Regions from separate parts of the Homo sapiens genome. Here region 2 is linked to region 1. Evidence: promoter capture Hi-C in 16 types of primary human blood cells and fetal thymus (Javierre and others, 2016). All regions are on one chromosome and are shown on one strand. The core of a region is centred on a gene start or on the middle of the fragment in contact, and the rest is flanking DNA. Distances in the headings are between cores, read along the strand shown.

Region 1 (3,749 bases), core at 391-2,890:
ATCTTACTGATGTGTACAGAACCAAGTGTCAACTAATTCAATTTCATCAAATCTGAAGAGTCAAAAAGAATAATTTTACCCAAGTATTTCCCAGTACCTTTATCCTGTCCAACCTCTAGTTTTGGTTTTTAAATACCCTAACTTCCTCCACCAGGTAAACATACTGTAACCCAGTTAACTCGAGTTTCTTTTCGAATTTGTAAGACCGTCACAGGGAATGATCACTGCTCTCTTTTTGCTCTTTATTCCAGTTAGCTTCTTCCTCCAAAACGGAGTTTTATTTCCTCACCTTATTCTACTATAATACTTCACTTTGAATTCTGTACCTGAAAGGAGCCATGAGTTCCGAGGTACAACTACTACAAACGGACTCCTACCTGGCTTTCTAAGTCTTATCAATATTTCCTGCTTTCTATTCCAGTACTGTTATAAATCCCTAACTGACTCCGAGTCCTCATCAGCTGACACAAGTCAAAAAATTCAGATTTAGAAAGGGAAACAATGGCTTGTAGTTTTACCGATTTGTTTCCGATACATAACAACGCTGACGTTCTTTAACCATCTTCTAAGTTTAGTTCTCAAGCTCTAGGTTAGGGTACCACTAACGAAGCTTCCACCTTACCCGTGAACAGAGCTGGTAGCAACTAAACGGAAAACGCTGTGAAGACTACATCTACGTTTAGCTACCTAATGTCCATGCCGCACCGACCTCCTAAAGGGAATTCTTAATAATGGGAGACTGAAATATCCAGGGAGGGTGAGGTAGTAGAAAACTGTTTAGACTGTCAAAAATCTGGCATTGGCTAATCCTGCCTGTTACTCCGGGCCTCGGTTTCCCCATCTACAAAACTGATGTAAGGTAGGGGGATTGACTTAAACAATTTCTAAAGTCCTTATGGCTATAGTAATCCAGAAACTCAATCTGTCTCCTCATCTGGCTTTACACTGAACACGTGGGAAAATAGAAAAGAACCTTTTGCTCCACCGAACCGACTCCTATTCTCAGATATTATCTTAAAAATCTCCCAAACTTCGGACTCACCCTAATCCTCGGGGTGCCCACTTCCCTTATGGAGAAGCCAAGGCAAATAAAGCCCAGTCCCACATGACGGTCAAGGAAGTGCGGGGCAGACCGTATTCAGGGTTTCAAGGCGCTGACCCCGGAAAGGCCAGCCCACCGTGGGGTCCTTACACCACTGAATGAATGAGTACAACCAGACAGACACCCACTCGCGTGGGCAGCAACTGGAGACCTCCAGGCCTAGACCCCACTGATGTCCATTCTCTCCCAGGGCCTCCAAAGCCGGGCCTCCCGGGCTCCGGGCCCCCGGGTCCTCAGCACCGCCCCTCTCTCAGGCCAGAAGGTGCGCGCAGCGGCGCTAGACTTCGAAGCGGAGAGGCCCTGAGACGCCCCGCGCGTCCGCCCGCCCGGAAGGGGGGAGAAACCTGCCGGTCTCGGCCGCTGCAGCTCGGGCTCCCGACTTACCGCGGTTCGGTGGGGAAGGGGAAGTGTCAGGAGTCCCCTGCTGCCACCCGCCGCTCACAGAGCAGCGCGCGGCCCCCACGAAACCGTCGCCGCCGCCGCTACCACCCCTGCCACCGACCGCCGCTTCGGGCGCAGCGCGCAGAGGGCCCGACTGCGTCACACGCCGCCCGGCGTCAGAGGCTCGTTGCGGACGCTCCGCCCTCGCCGTCCGCGAATTGGTGGACGCGGCCGCCACTCTGGGTCGACCCTGTTATTCATTGGGCAACGCGTCTTTTGAAACCGAACTGAAGGGGGAAGGGGCGAGAGGGAAGAGGAGGGGCAGAAGGAGTTCGGGGAGGCACAGGGTAGGAGCGGTGAGAGGGCCGTGGAGTCCCGCCCCTCGCCGCCGCGGTTGGCGGGAGCGTGTCGTGACGTCACACAGGGCCTCTCGAAGTGGGCTTGTGAATGGCTAGATTGGGAAGCACCGGCGGGGTGTCGGGAAGGGTGGTGACGCAACATAGAGACTCCGCCCCCTTCCTTGGAGCGCCGCGACTCGGGCTGAGGGAGCTCGGGCCAATCAGAGGGACGGCCCCAGAATGGCATGGTAACTATTCGACCCTTTCCTTGCCCCGGTCCGCCGGCGCTGCTGGGAAGGCTTCCTAGTCTCTCTGCCCGCACTTCCCGCCCAGACCACGTGCGGAGCCTGAGGGCCCTCTTGGAAGGTCTGTCTGTCCAAAGAGTTTGCCCGAGGCTTCTTCAGGGCCCTAAATCCTGACCCTATTCTCTCCTGACCCATGCTCGCCCCAGCACTTTCTTTCCCTCCCTGAATTTCTAGGATGGACATTAGGAGCATTAGAGATGCCCTAAGGGACTGGCCCACCAAAGGGCCTGGTACAAATGAGGATTGTTGGAACGTCTTTCCCAGCTGCACGTGGAGAACCCCTAATTCTTTTTTTTTCTTTTTCTTTTGAGATGAAGTCTCGCGTTGTCGCCTAGGGTGGAGTGCATTGGCGCAATCTCGGCTCACTGCAACCTCTGCCTCCCGGGTTCAAGCGATTCTCCCGCCTTAGCCTCCCAAGTAGCTGGGATTACAGGCGTCCGCCACCAGGCCCAGCTAATTTTTGTATTTATAGTAGAGACGGGGATTTCACTGTGTTGGTCAGGCTGGTCTCGAACTCCTGATCTCAAGTGATCCACCCGCCTCGGCCTCCCAAAGTGCTGGGATTACAGACGTGAGCCACCTCGCCCATGAACTAATTTTTTTTTTTTTTTTTGAGATGGAGTCTTGCTCTGTCTCCTCTTTCTCCCAGGCTGGAGTGCAGTGGCACGATCTCGGCTCACTGCAATCTCCGCCTCCCAGGTACAAGAGAGTCTCCTGTCGTAGCCTCCCGAGTAGCTGGGATTACAGGCACTCGCCGCCGCGCCCAGCTGATTTTGTATTTTTAGTAGAGATGGGGTTTCACCATGTTGGCCAGGCTGGTCTCGAACTCCGGAACTCAGGTGATCCGCCCGCCTCGGCCTCCCACAGTGCTGGCCTTACAGGCGTGAGCCACCGCGCCCAGCCGAACCCCTACTTATTCTTAAAGGACGGGTATTTCAAATGTTCCCATCTTCTCAGTGATACATTTGCCAAGCTTTCACAGCGAGTTGAGCTAATGCTTGGGCAGGCCTCTGTTAAAGCCTTGTCACTTTGTATCCTATTATTTACCCTCGGTTTTCTGTGCCTTGGGCTCTTCTTGGAAGTCCTTCTGGGGCCTAGCCCATTAGCAGAAAACTGATATTACAAGAGTGAAAGGTGGGCATTTTCTAGAAACTAGACCTGTTTAGTGACTGAGAGTCTCATAGCAGGAACTGTGCGCAGAAAGCAAAGCGTATACTGGCCGGGCTGGTGGCTCATGCCTGTAATCCCAGCACTTTGGGATGCTGAGGCGGGCAGATTATTTGAGGCCAGGAGTTCGAGACCAGCCTGGCCAACATGATGAAACCCTGTCTCTACTAAGAATACAAAAATTGGTCAAGCATGGTGGTGGGCACCTATAATCCCAGCTGCTTCTCGGTTTGCTGAGGCACGAGAATGGCTTGAACCAGGGAGGCGGAGATTACAGTGAGTGGAGATCCTGCCACTGCGCTCCAGAGTGATCTCAAAAAAAATTTTTAAAAAACCTCCACCACTACTCCTTTGTGAGACATGAATGCAAAATTGAACTGGGCTTTTACCTAAAATGTAAATGAGTTTAAAGCCATCTGGGTTTTCGGTGATGGCAAGGGATTAGAGATAATTGAT
Region 2 (3,749 bases), core at 426-2,925, 340 kb after region 1:
TCTTTTCACTTTTGCAAACGCCATATGTTTCTTTTTTAATGAAAATATTTTTTCAGCTTTATTAAGGTATAATTGACAATAAAAATTGTGTATAAAACCAAGGTATACAGTGTAATGATTAGATATGTGTATATATTATATAACGATTACCACACCACAATGTTTTTGTTGTCGATACTGTTTTTGAGAAAATGTCTCACTTTGTCACCCAGGCTGGAGTGCAGTGGCATGATCTTGGCTCACTGCAGCCTCTGCCTCCTGGGTTCAAGCAATTCTCATGCCTCAGCCTCCTGAGTAGCTGGGATTACAGGCATGCTGCGCCACCATGCCTGGCTAATTATATTGTTTCTTGAATAACAGATGTCAAGATCTTAAAGGAATATAGCTTTCGTGTGGTGGCATTGATGTCTCGTCTTTATAAAAGATAGAATTTACCAAGCAATCTAGCATTAAATAACTCTTAAGTGATTTTAGTTTAAGCTTCAAAGCTGTAGTCTTTTCTAAGCAGTCACTGTTATTTATTTCTTCATACATTTTCTGCTTTTCCATTCAGATTGTAAATCCTCACTTATTGAAAGATCTTACCGAGCGGGGCCTATGGCATGAAGAGATGAAAAACCAGATTATTGCATGCAATGGCTCTATTCAGGTATAGAATGAAAATGAAGTGTGCTCTGCAGGGGCTGAGTTGGACATTGTGGTACCTCCTCACTCATGCTAGACAATGGAGAGAATGACTTCATTGTGTTCATCTAGGTTTTGCTTGTGTAGCTCTGTTCACCTCTGCATTGTTGTGCTAGGATTGTACACATCTTTACATAACCCTTACCATCTTGTTTTTATGCAATAATATAAAAAAGTAGTTCTCAATTTTTCTGCATCTTAGAATCAACTGGGGAGCTTTTAAAATCCTGAAGCTTAGGTTGCATTCCTTACCAATTAAATGTCTAGGAACAGGAACCAGACATCAATTTTTTTTTTTTTTTTTTTTTTTTGAGACGAAGTCTCTGTCGCCCAGGCTGGAGTGCAGTGGTGGAATCATGGCTCACTGCAACCTCTGCCTCCTAGGTTCAAGCGATTCTCCTGCCTCAGCCTCCCAAGTAGCTGGGATTACAGGTGCCTGCCACCACGCCCGGCTGTTTTTTGTATTTTTAGTAGAGACAGGGTTTCACCATATTGGCCAGGCTCCTGACCTCAGGTGATCCGCCTGCCTTGGCCTCCCAGGGTGCTAGGATTACATGCATGAGCCACCGTGCCTGGCCTCAGACATCAATAATTTTTAAAGATTCTTTTGGTGATTCCAAAGTATATCAAAATTTGGGGGATCATAGATAGAAAGACTGAAATTAAGAGAGTCAAGCTTAATTAAAAATCATGGTTGACGACTGATAGTCCAAAAGACAGAGTCACAAATCGTGTAAATATTTGCAACTAAGAGTCAAGAGGCATTTATTTGCAGATAGAGGTGTCTGGCTAAATGTTGGTCTGCTTAGCAACACAGATGAAGAGTCCTATAACAGTTCCATATTTAATGACAGAAACTGTAGCATTAGCCAGTCTGTGTGTTTTAATGAAAGTTAACCCTAGGCCTAAGAAAACCTGATTTTGGATTCCAAAGGGAGTTTGAAATCCTAGCTTATTTAAAGGGTTTTATCTCATTGCTTCCCTTGGTCCCTGTGAATTACAGCCCTTATTTTTTGTGTTTTCTGCAAAACTCAAGGGTCATTTATTGCTGCTTAGCTCTGACTTTTCCTTTCTTTAAGTGCCTCTAGAAGAATGAATGTTTGGGTCATAAATCAATTAAAAAATTAAAAAATTGGTTTATGACCAACAAAAAAGGGATGCTGAAATTACTATCACCAGATTGATATTTGGTTGGTTAGATGGGGGTTTTGTTCAACTTTCTAAATAGTCTTGGTAAACTTGATAAGGATCATATCATATGATACTGAATGGTAAGGTCAGATCTGGCAGGAAGTAAAATGAAGATCAAAGCTTGTGTCACTATTCTATTAATCATACACTGCTTTCTTTAACTGGAGTAAAGTAAACATTGGGTTTTCCTTCTTTAGAGCATACCAGAAATTCCTGATGACCTGAAGCAACTTTATAAAACTGTGTGGGAAATCTCTCAGAAAACTGTTCTCAAGATGGCAGCTGAGAGAGGTGCTTTCATTGATCAAAGCCAATCTTTGAACATCCACATTGCTGAGCCTAACTATGGCAAACTCACTAGTATGCACTTCTACGGCTGGAAGCAGGTTGGTAGAGAATATCAAGGAGTACTTAATTGCCAGCTTGAGATATTTTGGCATTGGAATGATTTTATGTTTTAGCCACCTATTAAATATTATCACCTAGAAGTTCTTTAAGTTCAAATCCAGAACGTTAAAACCAACCCATGGTTTTTGTACCAGAACAGGGTCTTGCCTTGGATTTTCTTGTTTCTGTTAGGTTTATTTCCTTCTTAGGTTTGAAACCTTGTAGTTACCTGTGATGCTTTCCTTCCTTTACTGTCCGTACAATTACCAAGTTGTGTTGATTGTTCCTTTGTATTATTTCTTAAATATCTTCCTTCCTTTTCTGCTGCTGTTATTCTAAACTGACCTTATTGCTTCTAGGATCTCTGCTCCCAGCCATTTTGTGTGCATTACCACCATTCCTCAGATAAAACTTTGCACACGTCAACCCGCTATTCAAAAACATCCATTGTTTTCTCACTTTATAAAGTGAAAGCCAGCTTACTTAGCTAGTCGTTGCCAGCTGTAAAGTCTGGTGATTTTGGATTATGTTCTTATTCCCTGATAATGTATTGGGTATTTAAGTAGAATTATAAATTTGTTTTTTAATTTAACATTTATTGAACATCTAGTATGTGCCAGGACTGAGGATACTGAATAGAAGATGATGATCTTTATCTTTGAAGTCTTATAGTCTGTTGTTACACAGAGACACAGTCTAGCTCTCTAAACAGTTATAACCTAAGGCAGACATATTGTCTTGGGCAAACCTGGAAGTCATATGCATAAAAACAAAGACAAAAGAATAAAAATGTTTGACCTTTCCAAAGAGATAAGCCTGTTTTAGGAGTGAAAAGAACAGGATATTTCTGTCTGACTCACAAAGCATTTTTGAGAGTACTCCTAGAGGAGATAGAATTCCAAGTTTAAAAAAAGTTTGATCTGGTTCATGGGAATGTATTTTATTTTATGTATGTATGTATGTATTTTGAGACAGAGACTCACTCTGTTGCCCCGGCTGGAGTACAGCGGCATGATCTTGGCTCACTGCAACCTCTGTCCTGGGTTCAAGTGATTCTCATGTCTTAGCCTCCTGAGTAGCTAGGATCACAGGTGTGTGCCAACACACCTGGCTAATTTTTGTATTTTTATTAGAGATGGGGTTTTGCCATGTTGGCCAGGCTGGTCTCAAACTCCTGGCCTCAAGCAATTCACCTGCCTCGGCCTCCCAAAGTGCTCGAATTACAGGTGTGAGCCACTGTGCCTGGCCAGGAATGTATTTTATTTTATTTTAATATTATTGTTTTATTTTATTTTATACTTTTTTAGACGGAGTCTCGCTCTGTTGCCCAGGCTGGAGTGCAATGATACAGTCTTGGCTCACTGCAACCTCAGCCTCCTGAGTAGCTGAAATTTATAGGCATGTACTACCCCTCTTGGGGGATTACAGGCATGAGCCACAGCGCCCAGCCAGGAATGTATTTTTTTGTTTGTTTGTTTGTTTGTTTT

What was found. Contacts are between HindIII fragments. The CHiCAGO score rates a contact against its expected background, and 5 or more counts as called.
Region 2: a fragment that was not itself captured here is called in contact with the fragment with the promoter of NUP98 in region 1 in 4 of 17 cell types (total CD8 T cells, total CD4 T cells, naive CD4 T cells and 1 more); the score reaches 7.7 in total CD8 T cells.

What each region holds. Positions count from the first base shown.
Region 1 is chr11:3,795,914-3,799,662 of GRCh38, forward strand. NUP98 (nucleoporin 98 and 96 precursor) reads right to left here and starts at 1,641. Exons shown (of 33, transcript NM_016320.5): 1 at 1,487-1,641. It also overlaps a transcript of PGAP2 not described here. RefSeq lists silencers at 1,318-1,407, 1,488-1,657. The HindIII fragment of the contact is 2,489 bases long and covers 609-3,097 here.
Region 2 is chr11:4,133,010-4,136,758 of GRCh38, forward strand. It overlaps RRM1 (ribonucleotide reductase catalytic subunit M1), which reads left to right. Exons shown (of 19, transcript NM_001033.5): 17 at 554-649; 18 at 2,073-2,261. Among named protein-coding and RNA genes, the nearest start is that of RRM1, 40 kb to the left of the region's middle. The HindIII fragment of the contact is 635 bases long and covers 1,359-1,993 here.